Regions from separate parts of the Homo sapiens genome. Here regions 1, 2, 3, 4, 5 and 7 are each linked to region 6. Evidence: promoter capture Hi-C in 16 types of primary human blood cells and fetal thymus (Javierre and others, 2016). All regions are on one chromosome and are shown on one strand. Each heading gives the region's core, a stretch centred on a gene start or on the middle of the fragment in contact. The rest is flanking DNA. Distances are from core to core; before and after follow the strand shown. Region 1 overlaps LAPTM4B (lysosomal protein transmembrane 4 beta). Region 2 overlaps POP1 (POP1 ribonuclease P/MRP subunit). Region 3 has its middle 7.7 kb from the start of RPL30. Region 4 overlaps MATN2 (matrilin 2). Region 5 overlaps VIRMA (vir like m6A methyltransferase associated). Region 6 holds the start of PTDSS1 (phosphatidylserine synthase 1). Region 7 overlaps MTDH (metadherin).

What was found. The method cuts DNA at HindIII sites, captures the fragments that hold promoters and counts their contacts. A CHiCAGO score of 5 or more calls a contact.
Region 1: a fragment that was not itself captured here is called in contact with the fragment with the promoter of PTDSS1 in region 6 in 1 of 17 cell types (activated CD4 T cells); the score reaches 8.6 in activated CD4 T cells.
Region 2: a contact is called between a fragment that was not itself captured here and the fragment with the promoter of PTDSS1 in region 6, in 7 of 17 cell types (naive CD4 T cells, non-activated CD4 T cells, activated CD4 T cells and 4 more). The highest score is 10.5, in naive CD4 T cells.
Region 3: a fragment that was not itself captured here is called in contact with the fragment with the promoter of PTDSS1 in region 6 in 1 of 17 cell types (fetal thymus); the score reaches 5.5 in fetal thymus.
Region 4: a contact is called between a fragment that was not itself captured here and the fragment with the promoter of PTDSS1 in region 6, in 8 of 17 cell types (naive CD4 T cells, non-activated CD4 T cells, fetal thymus and 5 more). The highest score is 9.0, in naive CD4 T cells.
Region 5: a contact is called between a fragment that was not itself captured here and the fragment with the promoter of PTDSS1 in region 6, in 2 of 17 cell types (total B cells and total CD8 T cells). The highest score is 5.3, in total B cells.
Region 7: a contact is called between a fragment that was not itself captured here and the fragment with the promoter of PTDSS1 in region 6, in 1 of 17 cell types (total B cells). The highest score is 5.9, in total B cells.

What each region holds. Positions count from the first base shown.
Region 1 is chr8:97,779,602-97,782,900 of GRCh38, forward strand. All of the region lies in intron 1 of LAPTM4B (lysosomal protein transmembrane 4 beta), which reads left to right. Among named protein-coding and RNA genes, the nearest start is that of LAPTM4B, 5.5 kb to the left of the region's middle. RefSeq lists an enhancer at 2,911-3,299. The HindIII fragment of the contact is 6,902 bases long and covers 1-3,299 here.
Region 2 is chr8:98,119,723-98,123,251 of GRCh38, forward strand. All of the region lies in intron 1 of POP1 (POP1 ribonuclease P/MRP subunit), which reads left to right. Among named protein-coding and RNA genes, the nearest start is that of POP1, 4.2 kb to the left of the region's middle. The HindIII fragment of the contact is 5,033 bases long and covers 1-3,529 here.
Region 3 is chr8:98,051,397-98,055,006 of GRCh38, forward strand. No RefSeq gene overlaps it. Among named protein-coding and RNA genes, the nearest start is that of RPL30, 7.7 kb to the left of the region's middle. The HindIII fragment of the contact is 951 bases long and covers 1,165-2,115 here.
Region 4 is chr8:98,030,460-98,034,149 of GRCh38, forward strand. MATN2 (matrilin 2) reads left to right here. Exons shown (of 19, transcript NM_002380.5): 15 at 3-155; 16 at 1,787-1,858; 17 at 2,583-2,717; 18 at 3,102-3,200. Among named protein-coding and RNA genes, the nearest start is that of SNORA72, 9.9 kb to the right of the region's middle. RefSeq lists an enhancer at 2,082-3,281. The HindIII fragment of the contact is 1,114 bases long and covers 1,577-2,690 here.
Region 5 is chr8:94,548,604-94,551,948 of GRCh38, forward strand. The region is part of intron 1 of VIRMA (vir like m6A methyltransferase associated); the gene reads right to left. Among named protein-coding and RNA genes, the nearest start is that of VIRMA, 3.2 kb to the right of the region's middle. The HindIII fragment of the contact is 4,218 bases long and covers 1-3,345 here.
Region 6 is chr8:96,260,201-96,263,559 of GRCh38, forward strand. It overlaps PTDSS1 (phosphatidylserine synthase 1), which reads left to right and starts at 1,702. Exons shown (of 13, transcript NM_014754.3): 1 at 1,702-2,019. The coding sequence starts at 1,841. It overlaps MTERF3 (mitochondrial transcription termination factor 3), which reads right to left and starts at 1,410. Exons shown (of 8, transcript NM_015942.5): 1 at 1,301-1,410. RefSeq lists enhancers at 163-856, 1,008-1,067, 1,550-2,242, 2,388-2,627 and silencers at 1,231-1,555, 1,308-1,457, 1,638-2,007, 2,058-2,237. The HindIII fragment of the contact is 8,922 bases long and covers 1-3,359 here.
Region 7 is chr8:97,714,677-97,718,171 of GRCh38, forward strand. The region is part of intron 9 of MTDH (metadherin); the gene reads left to right. Among named protein-coding and RNA genes, the nearest start is that of LAPTM4B, 59 kb to the right of the region's middle. The HindIII fragment of the contact is 2,124 bases long and covers 852-2,975 here.

The DNA of each region.
Region 1 (3,299 bases), core at 777-3,276, 1.5 Mb after region 6:
TGGCAAGATCCCGTCTCTAATAAAAATACAAAAATTATTCGGTCGTGGTGGCATGCGCCTGTAATCCCAGCTACTCAGGAGGCTGAGGCATGAGAATTGCTTGAACTCTGGAGGTGGAAAGTCCAGCCTGGGTGACAGCAAGACTCTTATCTAAAAAAAAAAAAAAAAAAGTTGGGTGTGGGTGGCTCACGCCTATAATCCCAGCACTTTGGGAGGCCGAGGTGAGTGGATCTTGAGGTCAGGAGTTCAAAACCAGTCTGGCCAAGGTGGTGAAACCTCATCTCTACTAAAACTACAAAATTAGTCGGGCGCAGTGGCAGGCACCTGTAATCTCAGCTGCTGGGGAGGCAGAGGCAGGAGAATCCCTTGAACCCAGGTGGCAGAGGTTGCCGTGAGCCGAGATCACGCCACTGCACTCCAGCTTGGGCAACAGAGTGAGACTCTGTCTCAAAAAAAAAAAAAAAAAAGAAAAGTAAAATAAAGAATAATAATAATAAAGCGGAGAGTTTTCAGACAAGGCAGATATTTAAATAAGAGTCCAGGCCGGGTACGGTGGCTCATACCTGTAATCCCAGCACTTTCGGAGACTGAGGCGGGTGGATCACCTGAGGTCAGGAGTTTTGAGACCAGCCTGGCTAACATGATGAAACCCTGTTTCTATTAAAAATATAAAAAATTAGTGGGGCGTGGTGGCACGTGCCTGTAACCCCAGCTACTTGGGAAGCTGAGAGAAGAATCATTTGAACCCAGGAGGCGGAGGTTGCAGTGAGCTGAGATCGTGCGATTGCACTCCAGCTTGGGCAACAAAAGCGAAACTCTGTCTCAAAATAAATAAATAAATAAAACAAAAAGTAAGAGTCCACAATAAGGGCTCATTTAAGTAATTTCCTGTTTTGCAAGATAGGTAAAGTGGATCTTTTTTATATGTTTTCTTATTGTTGATTCCTACCAATACCGTTTACTAAGGCTCCAAGTGTCATGTACTTTACTAGATACTTTGCATAAGGTTAATTTTTACATATTCCTGGTGAGGTAGATTTTCTTATTCCCATTTTACAGATGAGAAAACTGAGGCTTAGAGAACTTTGGTGATTTACTTGAGAGCTTAAAATCCCATGGTTGGTTTATGATCTGAGTGATGTTTTAATCTGTTCTGTTTCCACTGTTTTACTTTTAAAAGTTGTGCATGTGTTTTGGTTTTGTCTTGGAATAATAAAAGTTTTCCTTCAGTCCTGAAGTAAAGTATATTGACTTCAGGTATTTATTATTATTATTACTATTTTTAAAATTCTGGGCCACGCTAACTTTGGGAGACTTCAGGTATTTATTCTAGAGATCATTTTTTGTTTGTCTCTTTTTTTTTCTTTTATTGAGTTGTGATTTATGTACTACAATTTTTTTTTTTTGAGACCGAGTCTCGCTCTGACGCCCAGGCTGGAGTGCAGTGGCGTGATCTCGGCTCACCACAACCTCCGCCTCCTGGGTTCAAGCGATTCTCCTGCTCAGCCTCCTGAGTAGCTGGGATTACAGGTGAGCTCCGGGCTAATTTTTGTATTTTTAGTAGAGATGGGGTTTCCCCATGTTGTTCAGGCTGGTCTTGAACTCCTGACCTTGTGATCCATCCGCCTTGGCCTCCCAAAGTGCTGAGATTACAGGCGTGAGCCACTGTGCCCGGCCTTTTTTTTTTTTTTTTTTTTTGAGGAGTTTTGCTCTTATTGCTCAGGCCGAAGTGCAGTGGTGCAATCTCAGCTCACTGCAACCTTCGCCTCCTGGGTTCAAGTGATTCCTGCCTCAGCCTCCCAAGTAGCTGGTATTACAGGCACCCACCACTGCGCTTGGCTAATTTTTGTTTTCCTAGTAGAGACAGGGTTTCATTATGTTGGCCAGGCTGGTCTTGAACTCCTGACCTCAGGTGATCCGCCCGCCTCGGCCTCCCACAGTGCTGGGATTACAGGCGTGAGCCACCGTGCCCGGCAAAATTCACAGTTAAATGTAGTTTATTGAGTTGACAAATGCCTCTGTAATGTAACCCACATTCCTTGAGAACATTTCCAAACTTTCAGCAAGTTCCCTTGTGCTGTTTCCCAGTTAATCCCTGCCATATCCCCAATCACTGTAGGTAAGTTTTGCTTATTCATGTAAAATGGAATTATGCTGTGTGTACCCTTCTGTATCTAGCTTCTTTCACTTAGCATAACTTCTTTTAGATTCATTCATCTTCTTGGAGTGTTGCTTTTTATTGCTGAGTATTGTTTTTATTGTATTAATATACCACAATTTGTTTATCCATTTGCCAGATATTGGACATTTGGGTTATTTCCAATTTGGGGCTATTATAAATAAAGCTGCACTGAACATTCTTGCACAAGACTTTGGGGACTTTTTTTTTTTTTTTTGAGACAGAGTTTAGCTCTTGTTGCCCAGGCTGGAGTGCAATGGTGCGATCTCGGCTCACCGCAACCTCCGACTCCCAGGTTCAAGCAATTCTCCTGCCTCAGCCTCCCTAGTAGCTGGGATTACAGGCATGCGCCACCACACCTGTTTAATTTTGTATTTTTAGTAGATAACAGGATTTCTCCATGTTGGTCAGGCTGGTCTCGAACTCCCGACCTCTGGTGATCTGCTCCCCTCAGCCTCCCAAAGTGCTGGGATTACAGGCCTGAGCCACCATGCCCAGCTTTTTTTTTTTTTTTTTTTTTTTTTTTGTGACAAGATCTCACTCTATTGCCCAGGCTGGAGTGGCTCAATGCAGCCTTGTCTTCCCTGGCTCAAGCAGCCTTGCCATTTCAGCCTCCCAAGTAGCTGGGACTACAGGCTCACACCACCACTCCACACCACTCCAGGCTTTTGTTTTTGAGACAGAGCCTCACTCTGTTGTCCAGGCTGGAGTGCAGTGGCGCAGTCTCAGCTCACTGCAACGTCTGCCTCCCGGGTTCAAGCGATTCTCCTGCCTCAGTCTCCTGAGTAGCTGGTACTACAGGCATGCGCCACCATCCCTGGCTAATTTTTTATTTTTGGTAGAGACGGGGTTTCACCATGTTGGTCAGGCTTGTCTCGAACTCCTGACCTCCTGATCCACCTGCTTCGGCCTCCCAAAGTGCTGGGATTACGGGCGTGAGCCACCGTCCCCAGCCTTTTTTTTTTTCTGAGACGGAGTCTCGCTCTTGTTGCCCAGGCTGGAGTGCAGTGGTGCAGTCTCGGCTCACTGCAGCCTCCGCCTCTTGGGTTCAAGTGATTCTCCTGCTTCAGCCTCCAAAGTAGCTGGGATTGCAGGCATGCACCACCATACCTGGCTAATT
Region 2 (3,529 bases), core at 462-2,961, 1.9 Mb after region 6:
CTCATAACTATGCCTAGCTTATTTTTTGATTTCTTTGTAGGGATGAGTTCTCACTATGTTGCTCAGGTTGGTTTCTCCTGAGCTCAAGCAATCCTCCCGCCTTGGCCTCCCAAAGTGCTGGGATTATAGATGTGAACCACCACACCAGGCCTCTGGAAACTTTTAAATTAAATCCTCAGACTTCATAAAGATGCATCCTATATTCATTCCCTTCTGCTGTTAGAGGACCACTGCCAGTTTGATTTCCTCATATTTTAGTCTGGACCCAAAGCTCAGGGATGTTCCCAAGGTTATCCTAATCCTCCAGCACCAACCTTTTCTTGGACCATTCTAATACTGAGGGGAGCTAGAGTTTCTATGGTGTTCTTGTCTAGCCTTGCTGGTGAGTTCTGATTCAAGCAGGTAACAGTAGGTTAACTAAGTTGTTTTGTAAAATATTTGGAATGGCTTTTAATGCAGACCGATCTGAATCATGTGCTTCACTAGCCAGCCAGTTCTGCAGAACTCCATTTACTTCCTTCATACTGTTTAATTTGAAAAATGTTTTTGCATGTAGATATAGCTGTCTTTCATTTAGTTGAAATTAGTGGAGTGAGACAGTGAAATGGCATCAATCCCTGCTATTTCATTTATTATTTAAGAATAATAGCTACCATAAACTGAGCATTTAGTTAGCATAAAGCCCCATGCTAAGTGAGTTGTGTATATGCATTTTGCAAAGCCAAAACCATGTACAGTATGTATATGTTTGTTCATTTTTTTATTTTGAGACAGAGTCTCACTCTATCGCCCAGGCTGGAGTGCAGTGGCGTGATCTCGGCTCACCACAATCTCCGCCTCCTGGGTTCAAAGGATTCTCGTGCCTCAGCCTCCCGAGCAGCTGGGATTACAAGCGCATGCCATCACACGTGGCTCATTTTTGTATTTTTTTTTTTTTTTCTTGAGACGGAGTCTTGCTCCGTCGCCCAGGCTGGAGTGCAGTGGCGCGATCTCGGCTCACTGGAAGCTCCGCCTACCGGGTTCACGCCATTCTCCTGCCTCAGCCTCCCGAGTAGCTGGGACTACAGGCGCCCGCCAACACGCCCGGCTAATTTTTTGTATTTTTAGTAGAGACGGGGTTTCACTGTGTTAGCCAGGATGGTCTTGATCTCCTGACCTTGTGATCCTTCTGCCTCGGCCTTCCAAAGTGCTGGGATTACAGGCGTGAACCACCGCTCCCGGCCTCATTTTTGTATTTTTTAGTAGAGATGGGATTTCACCATGTTTGCCAGGCTGGTCTTGAACTCCTGGCCTCAAGTGATCCACTCGCCTTGGCCTCCCATAGTGCTGGGATTACAGGCATAAGCCATCCCACCTGGCCTGTATATAATGTTTAATTCTCACAGCAACTTGTAGAGGAAGAGGCTGAGGCTGAAAGTGAGAAAGTAATTTTCCTAAGATTATGTAACTAAAAAGTGTAAAGAAGGAATTTGAACCCACATCTTTCAAACTCCATAGTGAAAGCCCTTAAACACTATACCATATAGGCAAGTCTTAATTTTGTGTGAGGTCTTGCATTGGAAAAGGAAGTAAGTGAATGGGGGGTAATTTAGTGGCTCTCAGTGGAAGTGGGCAAATTCTGATGTGGCTGGCATTTTGGAAGTTTGTGTAGGTGTTTTGGTTGGCATAATTGGGCTAACATTGCTGGCATTTATTGGGCAGGGACCAGGGATATTAGACAGCCTGCTATGTGCAGAAAAGCCCCACAGTAGCCCAGTACCTAATTTATATAAAATTATTGGTTACACGGGTTTTTTTTTTTTTTTTTTTTGAGATGGAGACTTGCTCTATTGCCCAACTTGGAGTGCAGTGGTGTGATCATCTCGGCTCAATGCAACCTCCACCTCCTGGGTTCAAGCGATTCTCCTGTCGCAGCCTCCCGAATAGCTGGGACTACAGGTGCGCGCCACTGCACCCAACTAATTTTTTTTTTTTTTTTGAGATGGAGTCTTGCTCTGTTGCCCAGGCTGGAGTGCAGTGGCACGATCTGGGCTCACTGTAAGCTCCACCTTCTGGGTTCACACCATTCTCCTGCCTCAGCCTCCTGAGTAGCTGCGACTACAGGCGCCCGCCACCATGCCTGGCTAATTTTTTTGTATTTTTTTAGTAGAGACGGGGTTTCACTGTGTTAGCCAAGATGGTCTCGATCTCCTGACCTCATGATCCGCCCGCCTCAGCCTCCCAAAGCGCTGGAATTACAGGCGTGAGCCACCACGCCCGGCCCACCCAACTAATTTTTGTATTTCTAGTAGAGATGGGGTTTCGCCATGGTGGCCAGGTTGGTCTCGGACTCCTGACCTCAAGTGATTCGCCTGCCTCAGCCTCCCTAACTGCTGTGATTATAGGCATGAGCCACCGCACCTGGCCTGGTTACACCGTTTTAATATGCACTGAATTTTCCAGTAATGCAGTAAATCAAAGCAAGTTTGTACTTTTTTTGGCAGGGTGGCGGGGGTGGGGGTAGTTTACTAAGGAGTGTTGACCAATTTGGAAAATTACGTCATTAGTGGCATTGCTACCTTCTCTTTGAGGCACTGGTACAACACACCTGTGCTGCTTTGCCTTTGTAGCTGTTGAATTCATGGTAATTTTATGTATAGGTAGAAGTAAAGACTGGTATTAAAATACTGAACTGCTTTGAGAACAGCTTGGTAAATACCAGCTGCTCTGAGCTTCCCTACCTCCTAGTGTGTCCATGTATAGGGCCCTTCGGATTTCCTGCAGTTAGCAATGAAAGAGTTAATCACTGGTACCTTGGGGTTGAAGGGCTTCCAGGACCATCCAGCTTTATGGATTGTGCCAATGCCTGTGCTGGTGCCTGTGTGGATGTTATTATTCCCTGGGTTCAAAATCTATTCATAATATCATCTAGTGTAGTTGTGGTGAAATAGTTACATACAGAAATACATATTATTTTATTAAAATTACTTCTTAGGTCTCCTTTATGTTACATTTAGGGCATCTATTGTAGGGTATGTCTCGATATGTGTCTAATAGGTTATAACATTCATTTCATTTAAAAATAGAGAACAGCTGCTTCAAACTGAATCAGTAAAAATAGGGGATGTTGAGTTTGAGAGTTGGGAACTACTGACTGGTAAATCAGTCGGGGTCCCACTGTTTTTGTCCTTTATCTTGCTTCAAATTGAAATCATTATCTATTGCTATTATAAATTAAATATATAGCTGGCATCATCTGAGTAGTAGAAATGAAAGCGTCAGTAATTTGTGTTGTTTTTAATAGAGTTTCTCCTTTTGGAATAGGGTGTTCTGTATTTCATTGATTCAGGTGGCTCTTATTTCATCTAATAATCAAGGTAAAGTATTTGAACTAATTAATTTTTTATCATCCATAGCAATCTTATCTCATTTTTCATTCTTCTAACAGACTTTATGTGGTATCAACAGTTGTATATGATTTAATTATTTGACAGTGCAAACTGCAATATACTAATAGGGTCTCTTCCATCAATAGACTTATTTTGAATCA
Region 3 (3,610 bases), core at 390-2,889, 1.8 Mb after region 6:
GCATATGTTTCAGAGAGCACGGGGTTGGGGGTAAGGTTATAGATTAACAGCATCCCAAGGCAGAAGAATTTTTCTTAGTACAGAACAAAATGGAGTCTCTTATGTCTACTTCTTTCTACACAGACACAGTAACAATCTGATCTCTCTTTCTTTTCCCCACATTTCCCCGTTTTCTATTCGACAAAACCGCCATCGTCACCATGGCCCGTTCTCAATGAGCTGTTGGGTACACCTCCCAGACAGGGTGGCGGCTGGGCAGAGGGGCTCCTCACTTCCCTGACGGGGCGGCCGGGCAGAGGCGCCCCCCCACCTCCCAGACTGGGCGGCGGCTGGGCGGAGGCGCCCCCCACCTCCCAGACGGGGCGGCTGGCCGGGCGGGGGCTGCCCCCCACCTCCCAGATGGGGCAGCTGCCGGGCGGAGGGGCTCCTCACTTCCCAGACGGGGCTGCTGCCGGGCGGAGGGGCTCCTCACTTCCCAGACGGGGCGGCTGCCGGGCAGAGGAGCTCCTCACTTCTCAGACGGGGCGGCCGGGCAGAGACGCTCCTCACCTCCCAGACGGGGTGGCGGCCGGGCAGAGACGCTCCTCAGTTCCCAGATGGGGTCGCGGCTGGGCAGAGGCGCTCCTCACATCCCAGACGGGGCGGCAGGGCAGAGGCGCTCCCCACATCCCAGACGATGGGCGGCCAGGCAGAGATGCTCCTCACTTCCTAGACGGGGTGGCGGCCGGGCAGAGGCTACAATCTCGGCACTTTGGGAGGCCAAGGCAGGCGGCTGGGAGGTGGAGGTTGTAGCGAGCCGAGATCACACCACTGCACTCCAGCCTGGGCAACATTGAGCACTGAGTGAGCGAGACTCCGTCTGCAATCCTGGCACCTCGGGAGGCCGAGGCGGGCAGATCACTTGCGGTCAGGAGCTGGAGACCAGCCCAGCCAACACGGCGAAACCCCGTCTCCACCAACAAATACAAAAACCAGTCAGGTGTGGAGGCGCACGCCTGCAATCCCAGGCACTCCGCAGACTGAGGCAGGAGAATCAGGCTGGGAGGTTGCAGTGAGCCGAGATGGCGGCAGTAGAGACCAGCCTCCGCTCGGCATCAGAGGGAGACCATGGAAAGCGGGAGAAGGGGAGGGGGAGGGGGAGGGGGAGGGGTGTTCTACCTTCAAAGCTTTTTTTTTTTGAGACAGTCTTGCTCTGTCACCCAGGCTGGAGTACAATGGTGCAATCTTGGCTCACTGCAACCTCCACCTCCCGGGTTCAAGCAATTCTCTTGCCTCAGCCTCCCAAGTAGCTGGGATTACAGGCACCCGCCACCACGCCCAGCTAATTTTTTGTATTTTTAATAGAGACAATTTTTTGCCATGTTGGCCAGGCTGGTCTTGAACTCCTGACCGCGTGATCCACCCGTCTCAGCCTCCCAAAGTGCTTTTTTTTTTTTCCTTTCTTTCTATTTTTTTTTTTTTTTTTTTTTTTTTTTGAGACAGGGTCTTGCTCTGTCACCCAGGCTGGAGTACAGTGGCACAGTCAAGGTTCACTGCAACAACCTCCCTGGCTCAAGGGATCTTCCCACCTCAGCTTCTGAGTAGCTGGGACTACAGATGTGTGCTGTCATGCCTAGCTTATATATATATTAATCTCTCATATATATTTATTTATTATAGAGACAGGTTTCACTATATTGCCCAAGCTGGTCTTGAACTCCTAGGCTCAAGCGATCTTCCCATCTTGGCCTCCCAAACTGCTGGGATTACAAGAACTTGCCTCAAAGCATTTGTTTTATTTATTTTTTGAGACCAAATCTCACTGTCATCCAGGCTGGAGTGCAGTGGCACAGTCACAGCAACCCCGACCTCCTAGGCTCAAGCAATTCTCCTGCATCAGTCTCCAGAGTAGCTGGGACCACAGGTACATGCCACCATGCCCAGTTAACTTTTAAATTATTTCTAGAGATGAGAGCTCACCATGTTGCCCAGGCTGGTCTTGAACTCCTGGCCCCAATTGAACCTCCTGCTTAAACCTCCCAAAGTACTAGGGTTATAGATGTGAGCTGCTGTGCCAAAGTTTTTATTTATTAATTTAGGGGAGGAGATAGAAGGAGAGGAGAGAAAGGAGCACAAAGCTTTTTTTTTTTTTTTTTTTTTTTTTCTTTTTTGAGACAGGGCCTTGCTCTGTCACCCAGGCTGGAGTACAGTGGCAGTGATCTTCACTCACTGCAGCCTCCGCCTCCCGGGTTCAAGCGATTCTCCCACCTCAGCCTCCCTAGTAGCTGAGACTACAAGCACTCGACACCATGCCCGGCTAATTTTTGTATTTTTTGGCGGAGTTGGGGTTTCACCATGTTGGTTAGGCTGCTGTCGAACTTCTGACTTCAAGTGATCTGCCTGCCTTGGCCTCCCAAAGTGCTGGGATTACAGGTGTGAGCCACTGTGACTGGCCGCAAAGCTTTTAAATATTCACTTTCCTCCAAAGTAATCAGGATAGTTGCTGTCCCTGTTTTAGAGAATAAATGATTAAAGTGCATGAGGTAACTTTTCTGAGGCACTTTTCTTTATATGATACCAAGTATCCCATCCCAATTATGTGCTATGGTTTGAATATTTGTGTTCCTTCCAAAATTTATAGGTTGAAACCTAATCCCCCAATGCGAGTGTTAGCAGGTGGAGCCTTTAAGAGATAATTAAGTCATGAGGGCAGAGCCCCGATGAATGGATTAATGCCATAAAAAGGGCCATGAGAAGGTTCATAGTCTCTTTTGCCCTTCTGCCTTGTGAAGATGAAGTATTCATACCTGCAGAGGATGCCGCATTCCAGGCACCATCTTAGAATAAGAATCACCAAACCTGCTGGCACCTGGATATTGAGCTTCCCAGCCTCCAGAACTGTGAGCCAATAAATTTCTGTTTATAAATTAACCAGTCTCAAGTGTTCTGTTAAAGCAGCAGGAAAAGACTAAGATACTATGTGTCCTCACTATACTTTAAAGAAAGGACTTAGTTGCTTTCTCCCAAGGATCTTACCATGATTTTGTACTGGAAACCAGTGAAGCCCAAAGCACTCATTTTGTGTCTGAATCATGACCACAAAATGGGAATGCCTCCTAGGGAATCTTAACTGAATCCATTCTACCTCTCTTTGGAGACAGACTTGGGGCCTTGGTTTCTCTTTCTGTCTCTCTCTCTTTTTTTTTGTTTTTAAAGATGGAGTTCTCATTTTGTTGCCCAGGCTGGTTTCGAACTCTTCCTGAAGCAGTCCTCCTGCCTCAGCCTCCCGCAGTTCTGGGATTACAAGTGTGACCCACTGTGCCTGGTTAACATTTCTCTTTCATACCTGCATGACTTTGAGCAATTTTTAAAATCTCTGCAGCCAGGTGCGGTGGCTCACACCTGTAATCCCAGCACTTTGGGAGGCTGAGGTTGGTGGATCACCTAAGGTCAAGAATTCAAGACCAGCTTGGCCAGCATGGTGAAACCCAGTCTCTACCAAAAACACAAAAATTAGCCGGGCGTGGTGGTGCACGCCTGTAATCCCAGCTACTTGGGAGTCTGAGGCAGGAGAATTGCTCAAACCCGGGAGGCGGAGGTTGCAGTGAGGTGAGATCATGCTGCTGCACTC
Region 4 (3,690 bases), core at 884-3,383, 1.8 Mb after region 6:
AGGTATCACTATGTATGCTGTTGGGGTAGGAAAAGCCATTGAGGAGGAACTACAAGAGATTGCCTCTGAGCCCACAAACAAGCATCTCTTCTATGCCGAAGACTTCAGCACAATGGATGAGATAAGTGAAAAACTCAAGAAAGGCATCTGTGAAGGTACTATAGCTTACGCCGAAGACCTTAGCAAACAAGGCAGCATGAACTCCTTTTTTTTTGTTTTTTGAGATGGAGTCTCACTCTGTCATCCAGGCTGGAGTGCAGTGGCACAATCTCAGCTCACTACAACCTCCGCCTCCTGGGTTCAAGTGATTCTCATGCTTCAGCCTCCCGAGAAGCTGGGATTACAGGCACCCACCACCACACCCAGCTAATTTTTGTATTTTTAGTAGAGATGAGGTTTCACCATGTTGGCCAGGCTGGTCTCGAACTCCTGACCTCAAGTGATCCAGCCACCACAGCCTCCCAAAGTGCTGGGATTACAGGCGTGAGCCACCGTGTCCGGCCAGCATGAACCTTTAGTGATAAATTCTCAACCAAAAAAAAGTGTCTCCTTCATGGGCAGGGCCAGCAATGCCTAGAAACAGTACAAAAAGAAGGGCTGGGCACCATGGTTCCCACCTGTAACCCAACCATTTTGGGAGGCTGCGGTGGGAGGATTGCTCGAGCCCAGGAGTTCAAGACCAGTTTAGGCAACAAAGTGAAACCCTGTCTCTGAAAAAAAATTTAACAATTAGCTAGGCATGATGGCACACACCTGTAGTCTCAGCTACTTGGGAGACTGAGCGGGGAGGATCGTTTGAGCCCTGGAGGTCACGGCTTCAGTGAGCCATGATTGCGCCACTGCACTCCAACCTGGGTGACAAAGCAAGACCCTGTCTCAAAAAAAGAAAAAAAAAAGGTGGGGGAAACAGGGGAGGTGGGAAAGAAAAAAGTAATAGCTACCATTGTTTGCGCCCTTGCTCTGTGCCAAGCAGTATAATAAGTGTTTTGACACACCAGCATGCTTCATCCTCACAAACACCCTAGAGAAATGATCATTTAACTAAAAATCAATCATTATATAAATCAGGAGAGCTGAAGTGCAATTTCAGAATATACCTATAATTGGAGTGGAAAGGGGCGTACCTAGTTCTTCCAAGCCCACTGTTAAAATTAATGCCTTTCTGCATGGACTACTTGTTTACAGAATATCAGACTGCCCTTTAGACTTCAGATTTTGTTATGCATGCTTTTCTCCAGTTTACTAACTGTGCCAGATATGCTTACAGATAGCAGTTCTGCCTATTTTTCCTTGTACTCATGTCCCCGGCTCACCAGTTAGATCCCAGTCTAAGTGCTGTGTCTTACCCCTCTAGGGAAAGAACTCTTGAGATGAGGGGTAACAGGGAGGGAAGGCCTTTCAGATTTCTGAGTAGAGAATGTTTTGCCTCTTGATTGTTTCATGCAAGTTAAAATGCCTCAAGTGGAGCTGCTGCCACTGCAACTAAAATCCCTCAACAACTTCACCTTTTTTTTCTGCCCTACTTTCTAGACATGACATTTTTGGGAGCATTCTTAAGATGTACTTAGGGGGTCCAAGCTTCTCTTACGAGAGAGAATTGCCCTAGAGTGGTCATAAGTATCATGGTAACCAACTGCTTTTTTGAATCTTTGGTGTTACCAAACAAAACTAAAAAACCTTAGGTTATGGCAGGTAGGTAAGGAGGTGGTCTGGGACCAGCTTCCTGAAGAACACACACATGCCTGTGGACAACCATCACTTCTTTTGGTCATCTTTTTCTGCTCAGCTCTAGAAGACTCCGATGGAAGACAGGACTCTCCAGCAGGGGAACTGCCAAAAACGGTCCAACAGCCAACAGGTACAGTTTTTAAGGCAGTGTTTTTAGAAATTTTGGTGGAGGGAACCATGGTTTCCCTCCAGATAAAAGCTGTAAAGAAGTGAATGTAAGTATGTTCAAATTATGATAATGAAGGCCTTTTTTCCCTCAAAAAGATAGTTAACATTTACTCTTACATTAAGCCATATTTGGTAACTAGCATCGTTTCAGGTGACAGTGTTTTTTTGTTTTTGTTTTTGTTGTTGTTGTTTTTTTGAGACAGTTTCATTCTGTTGCCCAGGCTGGAGTGCAGTGGTACGATTTCAGCTCACTGCAACCTCCACCTCCTGGGCTCAAGTGATTCTCCTGCCCCAGCCTCCCGAGTAGCTGGAATTACAGGCACCCACCACCATGCCCAGCTAATTTTTGTATTTTTAGTAGAGACGGGGTTTTACCATGTTGGCCAGGCTGGTCTTGAACTCCTGACCTCAAGCGATCCACCCACCTTGGCCTCCCAAAGTGCTGGGATTACAGACATGAGCCACTGTGCCCGGCTGTTTTTGTTTTGTTTTTTGTTGTTGTTGTTTTTTGTTTTTTTAATAAAGATGTTTACTCCACTGAAGATAACAGTCTTTTTGCTTCAGTATGTCCCAAAGTAAAGCTCTGTACCAAGTGCTAGGAATACCAAGTACCTTACTCTGCTGATGGCTGTTTTATAACCAAAAGCGTTAAGCAGGTTTGATTGCAGTTTTCTTTCTCTTTACAGAATCTGAGCCAGTCACCATAAATATCCAAGACCTACTTTCCTGTTCTAATTTTGCAGTGCAACACAGATATCTGTTTGAAGAAGACAATCTTTTACGGTCTACACAAAAGCTTTCCCATTCAACAAAACCTTCAGGTAATTCCAAGTAAAATATTACTATAAGATAACTTGATCTCAGCCTTTCGGCTTGCCAACAACCTTAGCTTTAAGGAGGAAAGGAAAGAAGGAAGTAGGAAATAGTATAGAGGAAAAGAGAAGAAAGAATTTAAGTAAAATGAGAACTAAAACATAAACTAAAAGAAACTCAAGTAGTGTTCCTCAGTAATCCACAGTAAGGGCCACTTCCAGTGTTGGAAGCATATACAGTGCTTTCCTGGTATTTACTGGATCTGGCTGCATGGAAAAAGTGGAACATGTCTTTCATTATGGTTTCCTCCATATGCTGATTCATTCCTATTATTATGCGTCTGGGAAGTCTGGTGGATTCTAGAGGTGAACACTTTCCATCTGCTTTCTCAGGAAGCCCTTTGGAAGAAAAACACGATCAATGCAAATGTGAAAACCTTATAATGTTCCAGAACCTTGCAAACGAAGAAGTAAGAAAATTAACACAGCGCTATATCCTTTTCTTGCATTATGCTTCTGTATGGAATGCAAAGAATATTATCAAAACTTCACACACTCTATGTAGGTTTTATCAACTGAAGTAAATCCCACGAAGTCACAAAGAACAGTGATCTCCAGGAAAGGCTTTTTGCTTTAAAAAGCAGCCTCACAGGTGTTTGAGAGGCAAGGGCAAGCCAAGCTTATTAGCAGCAGTCAAGCACTTAGTTGCCATCGGCTGTTCTCGGGGGCTTAGCAATAAGGCCTGTCAGTCAGCATACAAAGTAAGGAAAAAAGAGACACTGGCCTAACTCCGTCTCTGCTAGGAAGGTGTGTAGGACATGATGAGGTCTGAAGTGCATCAAAGGTACGGTAAGTATAGACAAAGAATGTTGTAGAATGAAGAGGTTTCAAACTCAGTACTCCAAACTTTTCCTTTAGCCCCAAGGAACACCACAGCCACATATAGATTCAGTGTGTTTAGTTTCTGGAGGACAGGAGTGGT
Region 5 (3,345 bases), core at 496-2,995, 1.7 Mb before region 6:
TATTGTATATGTTAACATTAGAGATATAGTGTGCTTTTTTATATTTTTTTATTATTTATTTATTTATTTTGAGACAGAGTCTCGCTCTGTCGCCCAGGCTGGAGTGCAGTGGCACGATCTAGCCTCACTGCAAGTCCCACCTCCCAGGTTCACGCCATTCTCCTACCTCAGCCTCCTGAGTAGCTGGGACTACAGGCGCATACCATCACGCCTGGCTAATTTTTTTTGTATTTTTAGTAGAGACAGGGTTTCACCAGGTTAGCCAGGATGGTCTCAATCTCCTGACCTCGTGATCCCCCTGCCTCAGCCTCCCAAAGTGCTGGTATTACAGGCATGAGCCACCGCGTTTGCTATGTTGCCCAGGCTGTCCTCCCAACTCCTGGGCTCAAGTGATCCTCCCACTTCAGCCTCCCAGGCTGGGGCTACAGGCACACATGCCACCACACCTGGCTTATCTTGCATTCTTGATTTGTAATGTTAAGTGTTTTTTCATTCACGGGAACACTATTCCCTCACAATCAAATTGTCTTTTAATAAGTTTAACTGCTTATCTTCTGAACTCAGTGGATTGGCCTTATAAATGTGTATCAATTGTTTATGTGGAGAAGAGGAAATTATTGGTAAAACAAATACAATACCAAAAAAAGAGCTGTTAATGGCAGCTGGCAATAAAGATTCCCTGTGTGAAACTAATAAATGTCTCTTCTCTACCATATTACAAATTCCTTTGAAATCAAGGGCAATGGGCTTTGTTCTGACTTGTATTGCCCCTCCTAAAGCCATACCCTCACCTTCAAAAGTGTTTTTCATAAATAATTGTTAAACAGATTCTCAACTTCCTATGGGGCAAATTAATCTGGCTAATTATCCCGTTCCCATCAAACTCACTTCCACACTCTTACCATCATTAGTCCCACTAGTTCTCCTGTCTCTAAAACTAGAATTTTACCATTTTTAACTACCCTATCTCCTTCACATAATCAGTTGCCATCCTGTCAATTCTATACTCGAAATTTGTACATATCCAAAACTTGTATAAATCCTCTCCTACGTAGTTCCACTGGGACACAGCATAGCACTGCCTTAGAGCCAGAAAAATGTATGATGGTGGATCTTAATCTAGCTATGCTATTTTAGGAAAGTCACCTCATCTCTCAGGCTCAGTTTCCTTATCTATAAAATGTAGATGACTACCTTTGAAAACTCAGCGTGGGCCCTGCAGTGGCTCACGCCTGTAATCTTCGCACTTTGGGAGGCTGAGGTGGGAGAATCGCTTGAGCTCAGGAATTCAAGACCAGCCTGGGAAACATGGCAAAACACCGTCTCTACAAAAAAATATGAAAATCAGCCAGGCGTGTTGGTGCACAACTGTAGTCCCAGCTACTCGGGAGGCTGAGATGGAAGGATCGATTGAGCCCTGGTGGGAGAAATTGCAGTGAGCTGTGATCGCACCAGTGCACTCCAGCTTGGGTGACAGAGCAAGACCTAGTCTTAAAAAAAAAAAAAAAAACTGATGGAAGGACCAGAGATGATTTACTTAAGTTATCAAAGCCCACTGTGTCTGGCACAAATTAAGCATTCAATAAATGTTAAACAATGCTTACTGCCCATTGGCTAACTCAGGTTTTCATAACATCTCACTTTTTCTCTCTGATTTTGTCACCTCACCTCTATTTTCTCTGAACCATTTTTTTTTTTTTTCTTTTTGAGACGGAGTCTCGCTCTGTCACCCAGGCTGGAGTGCAGTGGCACAATCTCGGCTCACTGCAAGCTCTGCCTCCCGGGTTCACGCCATTCTCCGGCCTCAGCCTCCTGAGTAGCTGGGACTACAGGCACCTGCCACCACGCTCGGCTATTTGTTTGTATTTTTAGTAGAGACAGGGTTTCACCATGTTAGCCAGGATGGTCTCGATCTCCTGACCTCGTGATCCGCTTGCCTCGGCCTCCCAAAGTGCTGGGATTACAGGCATGAGCCACGGCGCCTGGCCTTCTCTGAACCATTTTAAGTATTATTGATCAAGTAATCTATCTAATGTATCTTACTAATTGTATGATTCGCCTGCTCAAAAACTACCCATTTCCTACAAAATAAAGTCCATAATTTTTATTTATTTATGTATTTATTTATTTTAAAAGACAGAGTCTTGCTCTGTCGCACAGGCTGGAGTGCAGTGGCGTGATCTTGGCTCACAGCAACCTCCTCCTCCCGGGTGCTAGCAATTCTCCTGCCTCAGCCTTCCGAGTAGCTGGGACTATAGACGCACACCGCCACGCCCAGCTAATTTTTTGTATTTTAGTAGAGACGGGGTTTCACTGTGTTACCCAGGCTGGTGTCGAACTCCTGACGTCAGGCAATCCACCCACCTCAGCCTCACCAAAGTGCCGGGATTACAGGCGTGAGCCACTGCGCCTGGCCTAAAGTCTGTAATTCTTTGTCGAGCATTCAAGGAGCTCCATGATCTGTCTTTGAATTGCCTTGGGTGCCACTTCACACTGCTACTTCAAGCATACCCTAACAGACGACTGACTACCCCAGTAGAATGCCCTCCTTTCCTAACTACAACTGTGAAATATTGCCCCTTTCACCAAAGACCAAGTTCATAAGCCAAACACCTTGATGAAGTCTTTCCTGATACACTCAAATGAAAAGTTATCTCTGCCTCTTCTGAAATCTTGTATCTTTTATTTATACCCACAAAGGGAGCTAGTTCTAATACGTCAGATACTGATGGGCATTTTGTAAACTAAGATGATAAACCCCAACGAATTCACACTGTGCTTCTTTATGTGATCATCACATTCTAACTCAAATCACAATTTTGTGAATCTAATCTCCAATACTGAGTTATAACTTCTTGAAAACAAACATTTCAATATTTCGTATCACCCACAAACCCCTACTTCCTCCTTCAAGACTTGATTTAAATGTGATCTCTGCTAAGCCTTCCCCAATCACCCCAGAAGAAAGCATTTACCATCTGCCCTATGCTCTCAAGGTATTCAATGTTTACCTAAGAATGAATAAAAGAATAGAAATACATGATAAACTAATGAAGGCCAATTTTCCTAAACTAGAATAGTACTAAACTAATTCATCACATGCCTCTTTCTCTTTTTCCTTTTTCTCTTTCTTCCTTTCGAGACAGGGTCTCACTCTGTTGCTCAGGCTGGAGCACAGTGGTGTGATCTTAGCTCACTGCAGCCTTGAACTCCCAGGATCAAATGATCCTTCCACTTCAGCCTCCCGAGTAGCTGGGGCAACAAGATCAAACCACCACAACTAGTTAATTTTCTTTTGTAGAGACAGGGGTTGCACTGTGTTGCCTAGGATGGTCTCAAACTCCT
Region 6 (3,359 bases), core at 452-2,951:
CATTCTGCGATGATTTTAGAAAAGAAGTAAGTATTCACAATACCCTGCTGGGATAGGTGGTTTCTGTTAGATTTTGGTGGGAAATGGGACTCCAAATGTGCCAAGTTTTCCCTCAAACCTACAACATTCATTCTCTGCACGGTAGTCATAAGGGCACTAAATTGAAAGTCAGAAGACCTCGGTTGTGCTACCTTGACAAGGCTGTTTCTGGCAGCAGTCTAACAAAAGCAGCAGTCTAGCCCATGATGTGGGGGGTGGGGGTGGGGTCAATAACTATTCTTCAAATAATGCTTTTTTAAAAGGCTAGGGGTACAATAAGATGATTCTTAAGGCCCCTATCAGCTCTAACATTTTTTGACGTCTAAGCACTTCATCCTACTTCAAACTCCTGAAATCCCAAATTCATCCTGAAGCCTTTCCACACTCAATACCACTTAAACATCAGGAAGACTCACTTTCAAATTTCACCCCGTCATTAAAAGATCTTTGTGCATACAACTAATGTTTATCCTTGCATTTTTATTTACAAGTGCACTATCTTCTCCACATCCTTTCATTGCTGCCTACACATCTTAACAATTGATTAACTGTTCATGCACGAGAGCAGAGCTGGGTCTCATCCCTGGATCCATCCTTCCGGGGACTATTCTCCACTTTCCCAGAGCCTTGTACTGCTCTAATGTTTGCGGAATGGAAATAAATCAATGGCAAGTACAGTTAACTCACTTGCTTACACAGTATGCAAAAGCGGGTAGGGGATGTGCAGATGTGTATAAAAGCCCTGTAAGGTGGTAACCTGAAGTCTTCTAACAAGGTCCTTTCATCAGGAAAATTACAGAAAACCCTTAAAGAAACTGAAGTCTCTTAACAATTCATATATACTGTTCTCAATGAGTGCCTAGTGCTTCGCTAGAAAAAGGCACTGAAATAGAGTTCAAGATTTCTACCTACGAAATGCTATAAATGAAATCAGGAGAGAAAGGGAGGTTATGGGGGCAGCTTCCTAATAAAGGGTCTCTCAATACTTCCCAGGCCATTTTAGCCCACTTCAGTTCCCCAAACTTGCGCAGGAAGGCAGAGCCCCCTCCTGAGGCTTCTCACACTGCGCTAATTAGCCAGCATGGTTGAGTTTTCACTACATCAGCCAGGGAAAAACACAAAACAAAACCAATCACCCTCTACTGGGCCGCGAAAACCTAAAGGCCCTTGAGGCCCTGGGGCGCGGTCTGGACGCGGGTGCGCCGGAACCTGAACCCTCGCCAGGAGCGCGATCCTCGTGCTGGGGCAGCTCCTGCTTTACCTGTGGCGAGGCCTGCTTCCCGTAGCGGGTGACCCCGGGACCGACCAACTCGCTGGGCCGCACGTCCCGTCCCGCCGCGCCGCACGCCGGCTCCTCAGCCCGCCCTACACAGCGCAGCCGCGCTCCCGGGCCCACGTGGGCCGCGCCCGGAGTGGGCGAGACCATGTGCCGGGTTACGCGGGGAGACAGCGGGCTACGTGCTCTGAAAAGAGCCAGCCAGGGGCCCCGGCTACCCTTCTCCGGCTCGCTATTCCTCTGAAGTCCTGTGGACTTGGAGTCTGAAAATTCCTCGAGTGGTAGAGATGCCTCAGCTAGGATGACAGCGTGGGGACGGCCGGCGGCGTCCCCTGCCCCAGGCCGCGGTGGCGGCGCCGCGACCCCGCCCTCTCGCGCCTGTCCTTCCCTCTGCTCCCAGCCTTTGCTGGGCGCCAGACCCGGCTTTGCCGTCCGGCTATTAGCCTACTGTGGCTAGTCACCCCCGGGGTCCCGGCCTTCTCGGGCTGGGGCCGCCGCCACCGCGGCAGGACGGGGAGGCGGGCCATGGCGTCCTGCGTGGGGAGCCGGACCCTAAGCAAGGATGATGTGAACTACAAAATGCATTTCCGGATGATCAACGAGCAGCAAGTGGAGGACATCACCATTGACTTCTTCTACCGGCCGCATACCATCACCCTGCTCAGCTTCACCATCGTCAGCCTCATGTACTTCGCCTTTACCAGGTGGGGCGGCCCAGCCGAGCGGGGGGCGCGTCCAAGGGCTAGGGAAGAGGCGGGAGGGAGGGTGGCGGGGAGGGGGGCCCGGCATGGCTCTGGGTGAGGAAGTGGGCTGGCTGCTCCACGCACACGCACTGGCAGCCCGCCGCCCACGCGGCCCCTCCGCCCGCCCGGTGTCTCACAGTACGCTAGCCTGCTCCCCTACCCCTCAGTGCCCCTTCTCCATACAGCGCCTCCGGTTACACGGGGAACGCACGCGAGTCACCTAGCACGATCGCCCCCTCACCCACCGCACTCAGCATCGCTCCACACAACATCACGACGCGGGCCCCTCCTCTGCACTGCTCCAGCCTTCGTCCCTACCCAGCACACCGCATGAATCATGTCGTATGCACCACTTTCAGCACACACCGCTACACATACAAAGCACCCCAATCCACAGCGCCTGCAGGCACCATACACAGGCCCAGGACACAACCTAGATCCCTTCCTGTGGAACTCCGGTATTCGGCACTATCCGTAACGCACAAAAAATGCACATGTGTGCTGCATACACGGTCTTTCCTGTGCAGCACTTCCCGTATGCATTGCACACAAGTCATCCAGCATAACACTTCCCCCAGCCTCAAACACTACCATCTGTACCACGGCACAAACTGCCACTCTAAACACACACCTCACAGCGGACCTTTCCTTTCCAGCACAGCCCAATACCCATCATCTGTGTACATGGCTGCACAGACACCAGCCCGCCACACATCACGCGGTGCATACCCTGCTCACTCATTACCTAACATACGTGCTGAAATGTGATCTTGTCCAGCAATTTTAATGGTGCCTGGGGTATAGTAACTGCTGTGTGTTAAATGAAACACATAAACCTCACACAGCATAACACAACTCTCTTATTCCCTGGAAAACATACACACACATTCTAATATATACCGGTTCATAGGAGCTGCCCAGCCCAAATCTTGAACACACCTCATGTTAACTCTGGCACTGCGCCTGTGGCTCCTCATTCCTAACCTAGAGAACTAATTCATCCTTGGTTCATAAGGAGGTACACACCGTGGTTCCTACTTAGAATGATTTATACTTTCTGAATGAACCTCTTTAAAGAAAGGGAAGTCACACCTCTCTCACCATTATGGCTTAAAAGGCCAACTTAGAGTAGAGTAGTTTTTGAGCCACACTTTTGGTTTCAAAACTGGCTGTGTGTCCTTAATTAAGTTGCATAACCTTGCTCTGAGCCTCAGGGGCCACACTCGTAAAATGGGGATGAAATATCTACTTATATAGGGTTATGAAAATTAAATGAATGTGTGTGAATGCATTTAGCAGAG
Region 7 (3,495 bases), core at 664-3,163, 1.5 Mb after region 6:
ACTAATACTGTTACATTACAACTTCTTAAAATATTTGTATTCCTTACTATAACTATGTAATTAATTGTTTAAATGTAGGAGACAGGGAACCGCAATTTCTAGGGTTAGCCCACATAGTAATTTTTCCTACTTATTGTTCTATTTGTTTATCTTTTTTTTTTTTATTTGAGACAGAGTCTTGTTCTGTTGCCCAGGCTGGAGTGCAGTAGTGCGATCTCAGCTCATTGCAGCCTCTGCCTCCCAGGTTCAAGCGATTCTCCTGCCTCAGCTTCCCAAGTAGCTAGGATTACAGGCATGTGCCACCACGCCTGGCTAATTTTTGTATTTTAGTAGAGACAGGCTTTCGCCATGTTAGCCAGGCTGGTCTCAAGTGATGTGGTCTCAAGTGAGCGGCCCAACTCAGCCTCCCAAAGTGCTGGGATTACAGGCGTGAACCACCACGCCCAGCCTTATTTATTTATTTATTTTTGAGACAGAGTCTCACTCTGTCACCCCGGCTGGAGTGCAGTGGCATAGTCTCACCTCACTGTAACCTGCCTCTCCCAGGTTCAAGTGATTCTCCTGCCTGAGCCTTCCAAGTAGCTGGGATTACAGGCATGAGCCACCACACCCAGCTAATTTTTGCATTTTTAGTAGAGAGGGGATTTCACCATGTTGGCCAGGCTGGTCTCAAGTGATCTGGCCTCGAGTGATCTTCCTGCCTCAGCCTCCCAAAGTGCTGGGATTACAGGTGTGAGCCACCACGCCCAGCCACTTACTGTTTTTGAAAGAAGTTTCTACATGGCTTTTTAAGGAAATATGTATTCAGTTATTTTTTATTGTGGGAAGCACAAACCCTCATAAATGATACAAGCTTATTATCAATACTTGCTTGCTTTTTCAGTAGTCAAAATGAATGGGCATTAAGGTTGTAACATAGCTAAGATCAGTGGATATGAACAAACTAACACTCTATAATAGGTATGCTTTTCTTGTTAGCTGGAGCTGGTAGATGAGAAATGTTACATCTATCCTTTGTTAGTAATACTACCTGAAAACCATTTTAGCCAAGTTTTTCTTGAATTTCTTTGACTTTGAGTATTTACTAATAATGATTTAGTGGATTGTGGATTAGTGGAGCTCCTTTTAAAATAAATTTTGTAGGATAGATGTATTCTGAAATGTTTAACGTATTGGCAAAGGTCATTAACATGTGACTGTTTCTTTGGCATTCTGATTATCCTTTTAAAAATGTTCACTGTGTTTTTAAAAATATAATGAATAAGTATTCTAGGTTTAGAGTCAGATCTATATTCTGAATCTTGTTCTGTCATTTTTTTTTTTTACCTTGCACAAGTTACATAATTGCATAGGTTGTTTTGAGAATTTGATATCCATGAAGTTCTATGCTGAGTACATAGCACATATATCCTATTAATAAAAGGTTATGGCTGGGCGCGGTGGCTCACGCCTATAATCCCAGCACTTTGGGAGGCCACGGCGGGTGGATCACCTGAGGTCGGGAGTTCGAGACCAACCTGACCAACATGGAGAAACCCTGTCTCTACTAAAAATACAGCATTAACCGGGCATGGTTGCATGCACCTGTAATCCCAGCTACTCGGGAGGCTGAGGTAGGAGAATCACTTGAACCCGGGAGGCGGAGGTTGCGGTGAGCCAAGATCATGCCATTGCACTCCAGCCTGGGCAACAAGAGTGAAACTCCATCTTAAAAGAAAGAAAAAAAAAGTTAGGCCGGGTGCGGTGGCTCATGCCTGTAATCCCAGCACCTGTGAGGCCGAGGCGGGTGGATCACAAGGTCAGGAGTTTGAGACCATCCTGGCCAACATGGTGAAACCCCGTCTCTACTGAAAATACAAAAATTAGCCGCACGTGGTAGCTGGCGCCTGTAGTCCCAGCTACTTGTGAAGTTGAGGCAGGAGAATCGCAGGTTGCAGTGAGCCAAGATTGTGCCACTACACTCCAGCCTGGACAACAGAGTGAGACTGTCTCAAAAAAAAAAATTATATTGTTTTTTCTCTTTTTGTTTTGTTTTGTTTGTTTGTTTTTTGAGACATTCCACTCTGTGGTCAGGCTGGAATGCAGTGGCTCCATCACAGCTCACTGCAGCCTCAACCTCCTGGGCTGAAGGGATCCTCCTGCTTCAGCCTCCCAAGTAACTAGGACTACAGTTTTTTTATTTTTTTGTAGAGACAGAGTTTCCCTATGTTACCCAGGCTATCCCAAACTCCTGGGCTCAAACAGTCCTCCTGCCTTGGCTCCCAAAGTGCTGGGATTACAGATGCAAGCTACCGCACCAAACCCAAAGTCCTTTTTGGTGTTCGTGTGTGGCTGATGGGGTCTTTCACTGTTGAGTTCAACTTGGGATGGAAATAAATTGATGTCTTCTGACTTTGTAAGATTGCAAAACTTTGAAAAACTTTGTAAGATTACAGACTTCACCCACATACTTCCAAAGCTACCTGCTCAGCCTAAATATATAGAAAATTTTGACTATCTAAACCCACTACTATACTGAATAACTATCATAAAATAGAACATCAGTGTCAGAAGAACATTAAGATCATCTTAGCCATTTGTTAAAAAGAACGGCCATTTTATATGGATGCATTTGCCAAAGAAAAATACAGTAATCCTTCTATTTAATATATTCTAGTTCATGTTTACTTTACATATAATTTACTAAGCATATAATGTGCTCTAGAATTATTTTGCTGAAACTTCATAAAAGTTTGAAAGTCTAAGAATGGAAATCTTGCTGCCCTGATGTCCTGTGGTGTTTGGCATGTGCCCTCCTGTCTCCTGACTAATCAGAGTGGCATGAGGCCCACGCCACCCAAACCTTTCACTTTCCAAAGAGCTAGCCATCCTCCACCCTGTACCATGGTGTCCTAGCCTGTCTGCGTTTGTTAGTGGTGATATTCTTTATGTATAATAAATTTTTATCCCCCCCCCCCCAAAAATGGAAATCTTAAAGCTTATGTGAGTTTTTAGAAATTATTAGGGCAAATTTTACTTTACAGTTGAGGAAACAGGCTTAGGGAAACTAAGTGACTTGTCCCTGAGATTGTTTGTTTGTTTGTTTGTTTTTGAGACAAGGTCTCACTCTGTCACCCAGGCTGGAGTGCAGTGGCACGATCTTGGCTCACTGCAACCTTCATCTCCCAGGTTCAAGCAACTATCATGTATCAGCCTCCCAAGTAGCTGGGATTACAGATGTGTACCACCATTACCAGATAATTTTTGTATTTTTAGTAGAAACAGGGTTTCACCATGTTGGCCAGACTGGTCTTGAACTCCTGACCTCAAGTGATCCACCCACCTCAGCCTCCCAAAGTGCTGGGATTACAGGCATGAGCCACAGCACCCGGCCTAATTTTTGTATTTTTAGTAGAGATAGGGTTTCACCATGTTGCCCAGGCTGGAGTGCAGTGGCGAGATCTGCAACCTCCGCCTTCCAGGTTCAAGTAATTGTCATGCCTCAGCCTCCCAAAT